2 separate regions of the Homo sapiens genome follow, and region 2 is linked to region 1. Evidence: promoter capture Hi-C in human tissues and cell types (Jung and others, 2019). All regions are on one chromosome and are shown on one strand. The core of a region is centred on a gene start or on the middle of the fragment in contact, and the rest is flanking DNA. Distances in the headings are between cores, read along the strand shown. Region 1 holds the start of SLC10A5 (solute carrier family 10 member 5). Region 2 has its middle 34 kb from the start of IMPA1.

What was found. Contacts are between HindIII fragments. The study calls those that stand out against the background at their distance.
Region 2: a contact is called between a fragment that was not itself captured here and the fragment with the promoter of SLC10A5 in region 1, in 1 of the 25 tissues and cell types used here (aorta).

The regions. Positions count from the first base shown.
Region 1 is chr8:81,691,887-81,699,454 of GRCh38, reverse strand. It overlaps SLC10A5 (solute carrier family 10 member 5), which reads left to right and starts at 4,397. Exons shown (of 1, transcript NM_001010893.3): 1 at 4,397-5,824. The coding sequence starts at 4,483. The coding sequence ends at 5,799. The HindIII fragment of the contact is 3,072 bases long and covers 1,552-4,623 here.
Region 2 is chr8:81,648,096-81,655,663 of GRCh38, reverse strand. No RefSeq gene overlaps it. Among named protein-coding and RNA genes, the nearest start is that of IMPA1, 34 kb to the left of the region's middle. The HindIII fragment of the contact is 7,970 bases long and covers 1-6,812 here.

The DNA.
Region 1 (7,568 bases), core at 3,148-5,647:
GTTGAGGATGCTTAGAAAAATTTTAAAGATTCACTCTCCCCACTCCACTCTAGCATCTTTCCACCTGCTTGCAGACAAATTTCAAGTAGCAAATCCACAAAGAGAATAAAAGTGTTTTAAATTTACATAAGTAATGGAAATAACAATATAATAAAAATGAGTTCTAGTTTAAAAAATCAGGCAGCAAATGCTAGGGAACTTCAAAAAGTTCATGGAAAAACTGAAAGATAAAAATAGGCCAGGGCTGGGCACAGTGGCTCAAGGCTGTAATCCCAGCACTTTGGGAGACTGAGGTGGGTGGATCACTTGAGGTCAGGAGTTCAAGACCAGCCTGGCCAACATGGTGAAACCCATCTCTACTAAAAATACAAAAAACTAGCCAGGCATGGTGGTGCATGCCTGTAATCCCAGCTACCTGGGAGGCTGAGACAGGAGAATCACATGAACCCAGGAGGGGGAGGTTGCAGTGAACCAAGATTATACCATTGCACCCCAGCCTGGGTGACAGAGCAAGACTTCGTCTCAAAAAAAAAAAAAAAAAGGACAGGTGTGGTGGCTCACACCTGTAATCCTGATACTTTGGGAGGCCGAGGCAGCAGGATCACTGGAGCCCAGGAGGTCGAGGCTGCAGTGAGCCATGATCTTGCCACTATACTCCAGCCTGGGCAATAAAGCGAGACCCTGTCTCAAAAAAGAAAACAGATAAAAATATAAAACATAAACTTTATTTTTCAACATAAGCTCCATCAAGTTTAAGACACTTTCGTAAGCAATGACGCCAGCCACTTAGTCCATTGCAAAATAACTGATGGTCCTGGATATTTAATCATGTTAATGCAGTCTGTTTCTTAACTAAAGAAAAATGGGTGCCCTTTAAAGTTTTTTTTTTTTTTTAAAGATTAGGAAACAGGAAGTCAGAAGAAGCAAAATTAGACCTCCTAAGGTAGATGCCTAATGATTTACCATCAAAATTCAAAATTTTCCTTGTTTTATGAGAGGAATGAGCAGGAGCATTGTCTTAGTGGAGAAGCAATCTCTGGTGAAGCTTACCTGGGCATTTTTCTGCTAAAACTTTGGCTGTCTCTAAACATTCTCATATTTTTTTTTTCTTTTTGTAGAGATAGGTCTTGCTATGTTGCCCAGACTGGTCTTGAACTCCTGGCCTCAATGGATCCTCCTGCCTTGGCCACCAAAAGTGCTGAGACTACAGGCATAAGCCACTGTACCCAGCCTCATAACACCTTTATAATAAGCAGACGTTATTGTTCTTTGGCTCTCCAGAAAGTCAACAAGAAAAATGCTTTGAGCATCCCAAAAAATAGTTGCCATGACCTTGCTTTTGACTAGTCCACTTTTATTTTGACTGGACCACTTCCACCTCTTGGTAGCTATTGCTCTGTTTGTGCTTTGTTTTCGGGATTATTCTGGTAAAGCCATGTTTCATCTCCTGTTACAATTCTTGGAAGAAATCCTTCAGGATCTTGATCCCACTTGTTTAAAATTTTTATTGAAAGACAACTGAAATTTTAAGTAGAAAACCCACCAGGAGAACAAAAGTACTCTTGTCTGTAGCTGATCTGGGTGCAATAGTTTCGGTACCCATCAAGTGGAAAGTTTGCTCAAGTTTAATTTTTCTGTCAGCATTGTGTAAGCTGAACCAACTGAGACATCTATGATGTTGGATATTGTATTAGTCCATTCTCACACTGCTATAAAGAACTACATGAGGTCGGGCGTGGTGGCTCACACCTGTAATCCCAGCACTTTGGGAGGCCAAGACAGGTGGATCACCTGAGATCAGGAGTTCGAGACAAACCTGGCCAACATGGTGAAACCCCATATCTACTAAAAATACAAAAATTTGCTGGGCATGATGACAAACACCTGTAATCCCTGCTACTCACAAGGCTGAGGCAGGAGAATCACTTGAACCTGGGAGGCGGAGCTTGCAGTGAACCGAGAGAGCACCACTGCATTCCAGTCTGGGTGACAAGAGTGAAACTCTGTCCTCCCAAAAAAGAATTACCTGAGAGTGCGTACTGTATAAAGAAAAGAAGCTTGACTCAGTTCCACAGGCTCTACAGGAAGCATGGCTGGGAGGCTCAGGAAACTTAAAATCATGGGAGAAGGGGAAGAAAGCACATCTTCACATGGCCAGCAGGAGACAGCAAGTGAAGAGGGAGGTGCTACACACTTTCAAACAACCAGATCTTGTGAGAACTCTATCATGGGACAGCACTAGGGCGATGGTGCTAAACCATCAGAAGCCATGCACATGATCCAATCATCTCCCTCCATGTCCCTCCTCCAACACTTCCTGTCATTACACTTCTGCATGAGATTTGGGTGGGGACACACAGCCAAACCATATTAGATATTGTCTGTGCTTTTTTTCTTCACAAATTGCTGTGAATGGTCTGCTGCTACGGGCTTCATCTTCAACATTGTCTCATCTCTTAAAATGAGTTATCCATTTGTAAACTGCAGATCTCCTTGGGGTATTGTCTCCATAACCTTTATGTGAAGCATCAATGATTTCACCATTCTTCCACCCAAACCTCACCATAAATTTGATGTGTGTTCTTCCTTCAATTTTAGCAGAATTTATGTTTCTCTGATAAAAGAGCTCTTTTCTAAATGTCTTATCATAGTTAGTGTCCCTCACTAGATCCTGTTCAGACATGTTACAAAAAGTTTATTCTGGTGCAAAAAAAAAATTGAAATTCATACACACTTTTTTATAATACATATTTTCCATGAAAATTTAGAAGAACACTTATATAGATGAATGATAGATTATCAAAGTTTTCCTAGATTTGTCAGGCTTTGTTCTTCACGGTTTTCAAATGAAAGGGCCTGGAGAAACCGAAGAACTAAAAGGGTTGCAGAAAGAGTCCTAAGGGGAAAGAAAAACTGATATACTCACATCTTCGACCTAGGCAACAAAAGTTATGAGTCAAGATATTTGGTCACATAACTAAAGATAACTTAGGTTTTATGACATTTTTGTTTTTTGTTTTGTTTTTGTCAGTTAAAATAGGGAAATTTTAACTGAAATATCAATGAACAGTCCCATTCCCTATCCTCACCATTGGTACAGCGGATCTTGTTTTTCTTAATGTGGTACATATTAATAAAATTTATGAGACCTAAGGTCTACTGCATTTGAAAGATTAACCGACATAAATGGTATACTTTTATAAAACTCGTTAAAATGACAAAAAGGTTTCACATTTTTGAGGAACAAATGATCTAAAATACTTAATACAAATTGGCATTACCTTGAACACATTGCATCATGATTACATGAAAGAGCTGCTGAAATGGTCATGTGTTCAGAGACTACTACATCTGTAGGCTTAATAGTAAACGTTTGGTTGGTTGGTTGGTCGGCTGGTTGGTTTGCTGCTTAGCATCAGGACACCCACCCCTTGTGTGGGAAATATACAAGTGTGTGAGTCTATGGGTTGAAATCCAAAAAGCCTGATGCTTTTTCTCATTCCTGGCAACCAAGGGATATGACCAAATTGGGTCAATTGAATGCCCTTGCCCCTAACTGTGAACAGAGAGTAGTGTTACAAACAAGGAATAAAAGATTAGAATCAATGCCAGTGTCTTTCCATTGCCCCATCGTGTCAGGGTCCAAGTGTCCAGTAGCTGTGGTCCCTTAACCAGCCTGTACCTTTGGCCGTGGCACCAGCTACCTACTTTCCCTATGTCCCCAAGTTATCTGGTAACCATTCAGGAATTTTTTTTCCTACTTAGGTATACAAAAAACAGTGTCAGTTTTTGCTTGACAGATTAAATCATCCTTCAGAGATGCAGGAAAACTATTAGCAGCCAAGGGATGCTGCCAAGGCCAGTGTCTGGGCTCTGCAGTTTTCTAACTTGTGATATTGGGTCACCCCACTAAGCTCCAGGAGAGCAGCGACTGCATCTGGCTTAATCATTATGGGATGGCCAGCTCCCAATTCCATGCCCTAGGCAAAGAGACATTCAGTGAATATTGATTTGACTTCGACTTGATTGAACAAAATGGTAACACTGAACTCTAGGTTTCCTCAGTGTCTGTTACAGATTTCTTGATCCTGACTGCTTTTAATTTTTTTTTTTTTAGCAAGAAATAACTAACGAATGATGACACTAAGCTTTAAATTCAAGTAAATAGGAGGCTTTTTTTTTTCGCATAAGCAGAAATGAGGAAATCAAGAGGAAGAGATTAGATTTCTGTTGTGATAAATCGAATCTGTTAAATGCCATGACTTTTTAATTGTCTTAATCACAAGTTAAACCGGTTGTGTTGCTGCTTAGATGGCTATATATTTGTTTAAAAGTACAGCAGTCCCTCCTACTGGACTTTGATCCTACAAAAACAACTGTTATCTAACTCACCCTCAGACTGTCACTGGAACACCTGCATGAAGAATGTTCTTTCATTTTTTAAAAACGATTTTGCATATATGATTTATTTCAGCTTTCAAAATGATTAGAAAACTTTTTATTGTTCTACTTTTGTTGCTTGTGACTATAGAAGAAGCAAGGATGTCATCGCTCAGTTTTCTGAATATAGAGAAGACTGAAATACTATTTTTCACAAAGACTGAAGAAACCATCCTTGTAAGTTCAAGCTACGAAAATAAACGGCCTAATTCCAGCCACCTCTTTGTGAAAATAGAAGATCCTAAAATACTACAAATGGTGAATGTGGCCAAGAAGATCTCATCAGATGCTACAAACTTTACCATAAATCTGGTGACTGATGAAGAAGGAGAAACAAATGTGACTATTCAACTCTGGGATTCTGAAGGTAGGCAAGAAAGACTCATTGAAGAAATCAAGAATGTGAAAGTCAAAGTGCTCAAACAAAAAGACAGTCTACTCCAGGCACCAATGCATATTGATAGAAATATCCTAATGCTTATTTTACCACTAATACTATTGAATAAGTGTGCATTTGGTTGTAAGATTGAATTACAGCTGTTTCAAACAGTATGGAAGAGACCTTTGCCAGTAATTCTTGGGGCAGTTACACAGTTTTTTCTGATGCCATTTTGCGGGTTTCTTTTGTCTCAGATTGTGGCATTGCCTGAGGCGCAAGCTTTTGGAGTTGTAATGACCTGCACGTGCCCAGGAGGGGGTGGGGGCTATCTCTTTGCTCTGCTTCTAGATGGAGATTTCACATTGGCCATTTTGATGACTTGCACATCAACATTATTGGCTCTGATCATGATGCCTGTCAATTCTTATATATACAGTAGGATATTAGGGTTGTCAGGTACATTCCATATTCCTGTTTCTAAAATTGTGTCAACACTCCTTTTCATACTTGTGCCAGTATCAATTGGAATAGTCATCAAGCATAGAATACCTGAAAAAGCAAGCTTCTTAGAGAGAATAATTAGACCTCTGAGTTTTATTTTAATGTTCGTAGGAATTTATTTGACTTTCACAGTGGGATTAGTGTTCTTAAAAACAGATAATCTAGAGGTGATTCTGTTGGGTCTCTTAGTTCCTGCTTTGGGTTTGCTGTTTGGGTACTCCTTTGCTAAAGTTTGTACGCTGCCTCTTCCTGTTTGTAAAACTGTTGCTATTGAAAGTGGGATGTTAAATAGTTTCTTAGCTCTTGCCGTTATTCAGCTGTCTTTTCCACAGTCCAAGGCCAATTTAGCTTCTGTGGCTCCTTTTACAGTAGCCATGTGTTCTGGATGTGAAATGTTACTGATCATTCTAGTTTACAAGGCTAAGAAAAGATGTATCTTTTTCTTACAAGATAAAAGGAAAAGAAATTTCCTAATCTAACAATTAAAGCATTACTGAATTCCTACTCTGGGTAGGGCACTGTGGGAGAGTAAAAGAATAACTATAATGATACCTGCTCTTAAGCCACTTATAATGTAATTAAAAATCTGACATTGGGGGGTAGAGAATACATATATATATATACACACACACACACACACACACACACACATTCGTATATGCTAAGTACTCAATGAGTGGTGGAGATGATAATACAGAAGTTCAGAGGAAGGAGACAACTTTGCAACTGTGTTGGTTTGAGAATGTTTTATAGGCTATGATGTCAATATGATACTTTCAGTGGTCTCCTAAATGAGACAGAGCAATAGAAAACTTATTTAGTGATTATGATATATCCTAAGTATTAAAAGAAGGAACACCCAGATAGCAGACATTTGACAAATTCTCACTCGGTGAATGAATTTGTAAATTTCATTAGCACATCAAAATAAGTATGTTTTAAAGTAAATGTGGCATCTCTGCCCTCAGAGCTAAGCTTTCTCCTGTCTTCCATGTTAACCCACCAAAGGCATTACTGTTTACCCCACAACACAGGGTCAGCTCTTCAACCTCATCTCTCTTCTGTCTTCTTTCTTTCTTTCTTTATAGTGAATGTATTTCCTACAGAAACAGCCTGTAATTCAATTGCCAGTGCTCTTCTCAATTCTCAGTGCTATCACTTTTTTCTGCACTATATTGCTTCTTCCCTAAACCTTTCTAAATTGGCTTCTGGCCTGTCTCTCCACCCTCTACTCACTGTCAGATTAATTTTCCTAAAATCTAACATTGACCATATAATTTCCCAGCAATGAAGACTTTTTGCTTTTTAAATGAATTTGTATTTCTTAATGAGGCATTTATTATACTCTACTGTCTGACCTTAACCTAGCTTCCCAGTTTTATTTATTATTATTATTTTTTTTTTTTTTTTGAGAAGGAGTCTCACTTTGTCACACAGTCTGGAGTGCAGTGGTGTGATCTCGGCTCACTGCAACCTCCGCCTCCCAGGTTCAAGTGATTCTCCTGCCTCAGCCTCACCAGTAGCTGGGATTACAGGCGCCTGCCACCACTCCCAGCTAATTTTTGTGTTTTTAGTAGAAACGGGGTTTCACCATCTTGGCCAGGTTGGTCTTGAACTCCTGACCTTGTGATTCATGTGCCTCAGCCTCCCAGAGTGCTAGGATTACAGGCTTGAGCCACCACGCCCAGCCAGTTTCCCAGTTTCATTATATCTCCTCTCTCACCTCGTTACACATAGTCTTTTACCCAAACAGAATGACTTAGTATGTTATGAGTATTGTTCATTCCAGCTAACCTGGCTTGTTTTATGACTATTTGTGTCCTGTTTTAATTTTCCTATTTTGCTCTAAGTCTTTGAGCATAATAACTATGTTTATTCATTTTGATATTCCCTATCACATCTAACACAGTATCTTCTGTGTGCTTATTCAAATAATGTGTTGAAGCACAGACTAGTGTCCAAATAAATAGTGTGCTTTTCAAAAACCTCCTTTTAATCTTCAGTGAAAATTTTTATTATCTAGGGCAAGTCTACGATCTTGTGCAAGAAAGTGTGGGATCGAGAATAGGAAATATCACTCTAAATAATCCTGCTTTCCCTATTTCCTAGCCTTATGGCAAATTCTTTGATCTTCTTATAGTCCAGTTTTCTCATTTAACAAATGAAGCTAATGGTGTCAACTCCATAGATTGTCCTAGGAATTAAGTGAGAGTATACATGTAATGTGCTTGGAAGAGTGCCTGGGACA
Region 2 (7,568 bases), core at 1,578-4,077, 42 kb after region 1:
TTTTGTGCTGGAAATTCCTCCAGTCTTAAGGGTTTTGTTTCTGTGGTAACTTCCCCCCTTCCTTAGTCTCTTTCTTCTCTTTCTAGAATTTCTGTTATTCAGTTGTTGAATCCTCTATATTTATCAACTTATTTCCTCTGTTTAACATCTTTTTGCAGCTGGGCACAGTGGCTCACGCCTGTAATCCCAGCACTTTGGGAGGCCGAGGCAGGTGGATCACCTGAGGTCAGGAGTTCAAGACCAGCCTGGCTAACATGGCGAAACCTCGTCTCTACTAAAAATACAAAAATTAGCTGGGCGTGGTGGCGGGCGCCTGTAATCCCAGCTACTCGGGAGGCTGAGGCAGGAGAATCGCTTGAACTTGGGAGGTGGAGGTTGTAGTGAGCCGAGATCGAGCCACTGTACTCCAGCCTCGTCAATAAGAGTGAAACTCCATCTCAAAAAAAAACAAAAAAACAAAAAAAAAATCTCTTTGCTTTAGTTTCTAGGAGATTTCCATATCTTTATCTTCCAACCTATTAACTTTTAAAAAATCACTGTGTTCTGATTTCATTGACTAAATATGTTATCTTTCTATGATATTCTTTTATATATTTTAAAACATATTCTAGGTCCTGCATTGTCCCTTTCAAGTTCCTCAATTTTTAGTTGCTTTTTGTTCTTTGGTTGTATTTTTTATTTGTTCTCTTTCATTTTTTGGCATCCTCAACTATCTAATGGTCCTTTGTTTTATAAATGTACTAAAATGTATGAGATACTGGTAAAAGTACTGCTAATAGGGAAATCTATAACCTTAGCTGGAAATTAGGGAAATAGAGGGATTGACTGTTAGAAATAAAAATATTTCATAGTCTATGTGATTGTCCACTTAGAAAATCCAAAAGAATCTGCAGACAAACCATTAGAATTAGTGTCTTTAGTGATGTCACTAGAGATAAGGTCAGTGTACAGAAATTAACTGCATTTGTATAAGCTAGCAATACTTAAGATAGAATTTGGTGAAGATAGCATTTACAGTAATGTTTTTTAAAGCCATCAGATACCTAGAAATTGTTCTGACAAACATGTAAAAACTCCACACAGGAAAAACTACAAAGCCAAAATATTGCTGTGAAAAATATAAAAGATCATAGTAGATGGCATAATATACTATGTTTATGGTTTGGGACACTCAATATTGCCCAGATGGCAATCCTTCCCAAATTTATCTGCAGATTTAAGAAAATCTCAGTAATGCTTGGGGGAGGGAGTAAAGAGGGAGGACTGAAATGTATATGAAATATAGAGAGCCCAAAATAGCTAAAACCATTTTAAAGCAGAAGAGCAATGTTAGAAGACTAGACCACTAGATACCAAGACTTGTAGAGCTCTGTAATTAAAACAGTGATATTAGCACAAGGCTAGACAAATAGACCAGTGGGACAGAGCGTCCAGAAATAAACCCAAATGTATAGAACTATCTAGTTGATGAAAATGATGTCATTGCAATGTAGTAAGGAAATGATCGTCTTTTCAATAAGTGGTATGGAAGCAGTTGGATATCCATATTAAAGGAGAACATAGAATATTGGTCCCATCATGCCATGCACACAAATCAATTCCAGATGATCCTAGACCTAAAAATAAAAGGTGAAAGAAAGCTTCTAGAAGATAGCATATCTTCCTGTCCTTGGTAGGCAAAGACAGGGTACAAAAAACAGGATACAAAAAAGCACTGACCCTAAAGAAAGACTGACAAATTGGGCTGCATTAATAGGTTTGCATCAAAATACACCGTTAAGAGAGAAGGGCAACCCACAGAGTTTGCAATACATCTATCTGAGAAATTATAATGAGGCTATAAATAACTCCTATGTAGCAAAAAAAAAAGATCCAATTACAAAATAGGCAAATAATTTTACTACATACTCCACAAAATTATATATTCAAACAATAAAAAATAAAAGTGTTCAATGTTATTTGTCATCCCAAAAATGCAAATTAAAACAATCTTATACCACTACATACATCAGAATGGCTAAAGCAAATAATAAATCCAGTGAACACATAAACTAAATAACCCCCCAACATCATATGCTATTGCCGGGGATGTACATTGGTATAACTACTTTAGGAAACTCTGGTGGTATCTACTAAAGCTAATCATCTGTTTGTCATAGGATCCAGCAGCTTCATTCCTCTGCACCTATTCAGCATACATGCACACATATATCACCAAAAGGCACATACAGCTATGTTCGTAGTAGCATTCTGTTATATGAGCCCTAAACGGTAAACAATGCAAAAGTCTACCAGTAACAGATGGATTTTCTTTTTCTTTTTTTTTTTTTTTTTTGAGGTGGAGTCTCACTCTTGCCCAGGCTGGGGTGCAGTGGCTTGATCATGGCTCACTGCAACCTTGAATTCCTGGGTTCCAGCAATCCTCCCACCTCAGCCTCCTGAGTAGCTGGACCTACAGGCAGGTGCCACCATGCTCGGCTAATTTAAACAAATTTTTTTCTTTTTAGACATGGGGTGTTGCTGTGTTGCCCAGGCTGAATCTCAAATTCCTGGGCTCAAGGATCCTCCCCCCTTGGCCTCTCAAGTGCTGGATTACAAGCCTGCGCTACCGGGCTGGGCTGGTGGTTTCTCTTCTATCAAGTCACTGTAGGGAAACTCATGCATGCCCCATGACTTCAATCATCATATCCATTCTATTGACTCAATCTTGACCTACAGCCCATATTTTCTTTCTGAATTTCACCCCTTCCCTGCCACTGCCTCTGCTCTGCCCTGCTCCTTCCTGGATGCCCCCTTCTGACCATCCTCTACTTGATTTCAATATGTCTCAAATAAAACAAATGAATTTTTGCTCAGAATTTTCTGCTACTCAACTGTTTTCATTTTTCTCTGCCCTTTCAAGTTTAGCATTTGATATATTTGATGTTTCTCTTTCCCCAGTCCTCACATCCAATTTTTCATAGCCAAGTTTTTTTTTATCATTTGACCCCACCTAACATTCCCACTGAATACTCCTGCCAGACTGGACCAATAGCTCTTCACTGGCCTCCTCTGAACTTTTTCAGGTGATATTCCTTCTGCCCAGAACAGCTTACAGTAATAATAGGTTAATTTTTTTTATGAGTGTGAAGATAAAGTCACAGTGATTCTCCTTTCTCTGGGAATTGCTCCCAACAAATGGCTGTGCTTACTGTCACCATGTCTGTAGTTGGTGTGACTCTGTTCTCTGTTTACTTCAGAAGAGGATATCTGACTCAACAAGACAAGTGAAATTTGCTAGGGTATTGGAAATTTTGAACCCAAAGACAGATTGGAAATAATTGGAAATCACTTTAGGTCAGCACTGGATAAGAAGTAACATGTGTCTCAGGAGGCATCCTTCAGATTGAGCTGGGTGTCAGCATTCAATTCCACAAGGCTACCTGTTTAAGAAGAATGGAAATATTTCATAGGTAATATGTTCTAATTTCTAATATGTCATATGTAATATGTTCATTTCTTAGGTAGTTTCTTCCTCTAAATAGCTCTTAAAATATTTTCCTTGATAATGTTATTTATGATATTTAGCATTTGTTGAGTGCACTGTACCATGTGTTGTGTTAAGCACTAAATATTCATGATGATAATTAAACCTCACAATAACACCAGGAGAAGTTATTTTCATTGTACCAAAGCACATATTTAATTAGCCCAATTTCCCTGCTAAGGTGACACAGGTAAGTGGTGACACTCCTGCAGTGACACAGCGAGGGTGTGCAATCTTAACCCCCCTGCCCAGGGATCCTCCCCCTCAAGCTGCACATGGGAACCACCTGGGGAGGGTACAGACCGTCCACTGCTGGGGTCCCTCCTGAGTGGATCTGACTGACCAGGTTTGGAGGGTCGCCTGGCCATCTGTATATTTTTTTAAGTTTTCAGGTAACAATATCAGGCAGCCAGGATTGAGAATTATTTTGTTTTCCAAGAATAACTGATTTCTTAGAAGTAGCCAACTCACCTACTCACCCACCTCAACAAACCTCAGAGGGTCTTAGGGTATGACTTGATACCTTTACAAGGAAATGTTGCTGTGAGCCATGCCTTTGCCACCTGATGAGCCTGCTTGGAAATTATTATACCTGCCTTTTTTATTTCCACAAATTAACACTAGATGGCAAACTGCACACAGGGAATCATATTAAACATTTCCATTTCTGAAACACTTTATTTTTTCTTCAAATAACCTCATTAGCCAATATTTGAGTTTAGTAATATAGTATTAAAACCAAGAGAATTCTTCATAAATTGAATTACTCCAGGTCATGGGTTAACTAGCATTCCCTTCAGCAGAGCCGTAGGCACCCTGTATACACTATGGCTTGGATTTCAGTTGTCTTAAAGGTTCAGCTGTTAAAATATGTTTATTAATCATAAACATATAGAAAACAAAATACTTCCTTATCACACCTGAGAACACTTTTCCAACAATATATGTTAATATCCCTATTAAATAATTGACTCACTAATAAAAACGTTTACAAATACCTGCCTACCTTTCAGGGAGCTTTTCATATCTCTAGGGATACAAGGCAGGGGGTGCTTTGATACTACTATATGCCCACTTTCCTGTTCTTTTTCCTCAGAAACTGTTTGCTTGGATGATGAAGTAATGGAGGTGGGGTATGTGAGAAACAGTATGAGAGAAGTATACATTACTTACGTTGAGGAGCAGTGTAATAATATTGTCATTTATTTAGTCTCTCATAACTGGTAAAATACCTTCATATCCCTGACCTCGAAGTGGCAGCACTCATCCAGCTACCTCAGAGTTGACAACATCACTCATCAGACCTTACACATAAAGGTGAGGTGTGGGGGATTTGTTTTTTTTTTTTAATACTTTATGTATGTGTGTATGAATGAATGAATGAATGACAGTGTCTTGCTCTGTTGTTTAGAATGCAGTGGTGCCATCAGGCTCACTGTAACCTCGAATTCATAGACTCAGTTGACCTATTGACCTTCCCCGCTCAGTCTCCCAAATAGCTGGGACTACAGGCATGTGCCACGACACCTGGCTAATTTTTAAATTTTTTGTAGAGACTGGGTCTTGCTGTGTTCCCCAGGCTGATCTCAAACTCCTAGTCTCAAACAATCCTCCTGCCTCAGCCTGAAAAGTCCTGGGGTTACAGGCATGAGCCACCGTGCCTGGCCAGGTGTGAGGGATGTAGAGGTTCAAGTAATCTTTCTAAATGCAAATACATGATCACCAGCCTAATGGTTTCTCAGTTTTCTTGGGGTAAAGTCTAAATTCCTTAATTTGGATTAGAAGACCATTCACGATCTGGTCCCCTCTCCTTGCCGCTCAGCCTTTTCACCTCTAGCCTCACATACATAGAGGTCAGATTGGAGTTTTTTCAGCTTCTGCAGCATGCCTTCTTCTAGCTTATGAACCTTCACAACAAGCTGGCTCGTTTCACTTTATTTGGTTTTTAGTAATGCTCTCTCTTACCTTCCCCTTTGAACCTCATCTTAACTCAGGCTTAACCTACCTTTACATGTTTAATATCTATTTACATATTACCCACATATTTGGTTTTAGCTTTCTTTTAGCTTCCTCCAAGAATCCTTTGACCACCGAAGTGTGGATATATTTCTTCTCCTGAGTGCTCTGCATTTCTTCAGACGGCTTACCTGCTTTGTTATAACTGCCTCTTGTAGGGAAAGATGGCCCTCTGAACACCATGGAGGATGGAGGCGGTCCTTTACTCATTCTTGTATTCTCAACATCCAGTACAGTGCTTGGTTAATAACAAGCCCTCTATAAATATTTGTTGAATACTTGAGGTGTCAATACCTAACGACACCTCTCTTATGCCATCTTGTACTCAGGTTTGAGAGCCATAATATATGCATGCCTGCAAATAATAGATTGCCTAGAACCACCCCAATTGTCCCTTTCCCAGAAAAGCTAAAGACCAGCCCATCTAGTACTTGATTTGTTTTTGTTTTAAAGCCAAGCTATGAAGAACCCCAAAGTCTTGCAGATTCACTTCAGATTCAAAGGGACAGATGTGAGATATGAAAAATATAATAAAATTTCTGTCCGTTCTGCTACAAAATCAAAATGAATGTAACTTTACATGACCATGCAAAATTCAGGTATACTGAGAACTTCACCATATTGAGAACTTATCAGGGGTGTCCAATCTTTTGGCTTCCCTGAGCCACATTGGAAGAAGAATTGTCTTGGGCTACATATAACATACACTAACACTAATACTAATGATAGCTGATGAACTTAAACAAAAAAAGCAAAAAAGTCTTAATGTTTTAAGAAAGTTTACAAATTTGTGTTGGTCCACATTCAAAGCTATCCTGGACCACATGCAGCCTGTGGGTGTCAGGATAGACAAGCTTGCTTTAGATGATTTGGGCCCACTAAAAACAGACTTAGGTCTTCACAAAGAGCAATTGCCATAGTGGTGATGAACTCAGTCCCTTCCATTCCTGCTCTCTCTGCTTCCTCCCTCCATCACAATTCAAGCCCTGAGGGAGAATAAACTTTAAAGATATGATTAACTAGATTACATTCTTCCAACACCACATTATAGTTTGTAGATAAACCTCAGTGCTGCCAAGGCCCTGCAGTTTGTATGCCTTGCTATCATATTTACTAAGGGGTTCTTAAGTTTATGCTTGGTAGAAAGATAATGAGACTGAATAAAGTCCTTTTTAGTTCCTACCTTGGGTCAAGACAAACTGGTAAAAAAAAAAAAAAACTTCATGGGAAACATAACTTTTGTCTTGGTCCCACTTTCACCAAATCCCAACATAATCACTTTTAAATAGCTCTGTAAAAGTCTATCTTGAAGGTTATTGTTTATTGTAAGCAACAGCCCATGACCTCTGAAACGCATCTCTGTGTTCATTCATTGTATCTTACAAGGTTCTCTTTGCCACTTCCTGGAAGAAAATCCTATATGATTTTAATATCACAAATAACTGTTGTTGTCTTGAGTGATTCATTTGTTATTACCTGAGCGATTAGTGAGAACTTGATGAAATTATAAGTTCCAGCATCGCATCCTAGATCTACAGAATTTGAAATTCTGTAAGTGGGGCCTCAGTGATTCTAGTTTTATAAACTCTTCAGGTGATTCAGATGCACACAAAATTTGGGAATCCCTTTTATAGAGAGGAATTATGTAATTGACTAGGCTTCTCTTCAAATTTGGCCACTGGAAAGCTTAGAGGTAAATTTGTGGTTCGCTGGTAGCAGATGTGTGGAGCATTATGATTTTTAGTTATTTCTTTGTCTGCTGTGGGTTTACCTTTGGTTTGTTTTTATTTCTATTTTCATTTCACTTCTAATTTAAGTTCTTGTCATATGACATATCCACACAAGCCATCTTAAGTCTTTTTTGAAACATGGCAAGAAACAGGCAAGTAGATAGCCAGACAAATAGAAAAATAGTTATTACACTCAGCTTCTGTAGAGAACAAGGTATTCTTGGCAACTGGTGCAGAGTAAGCACCCTTTGCAAACCTGGAGAAGGCCGTGTGTGTGTGTGTGTGTGTGTGTGTGT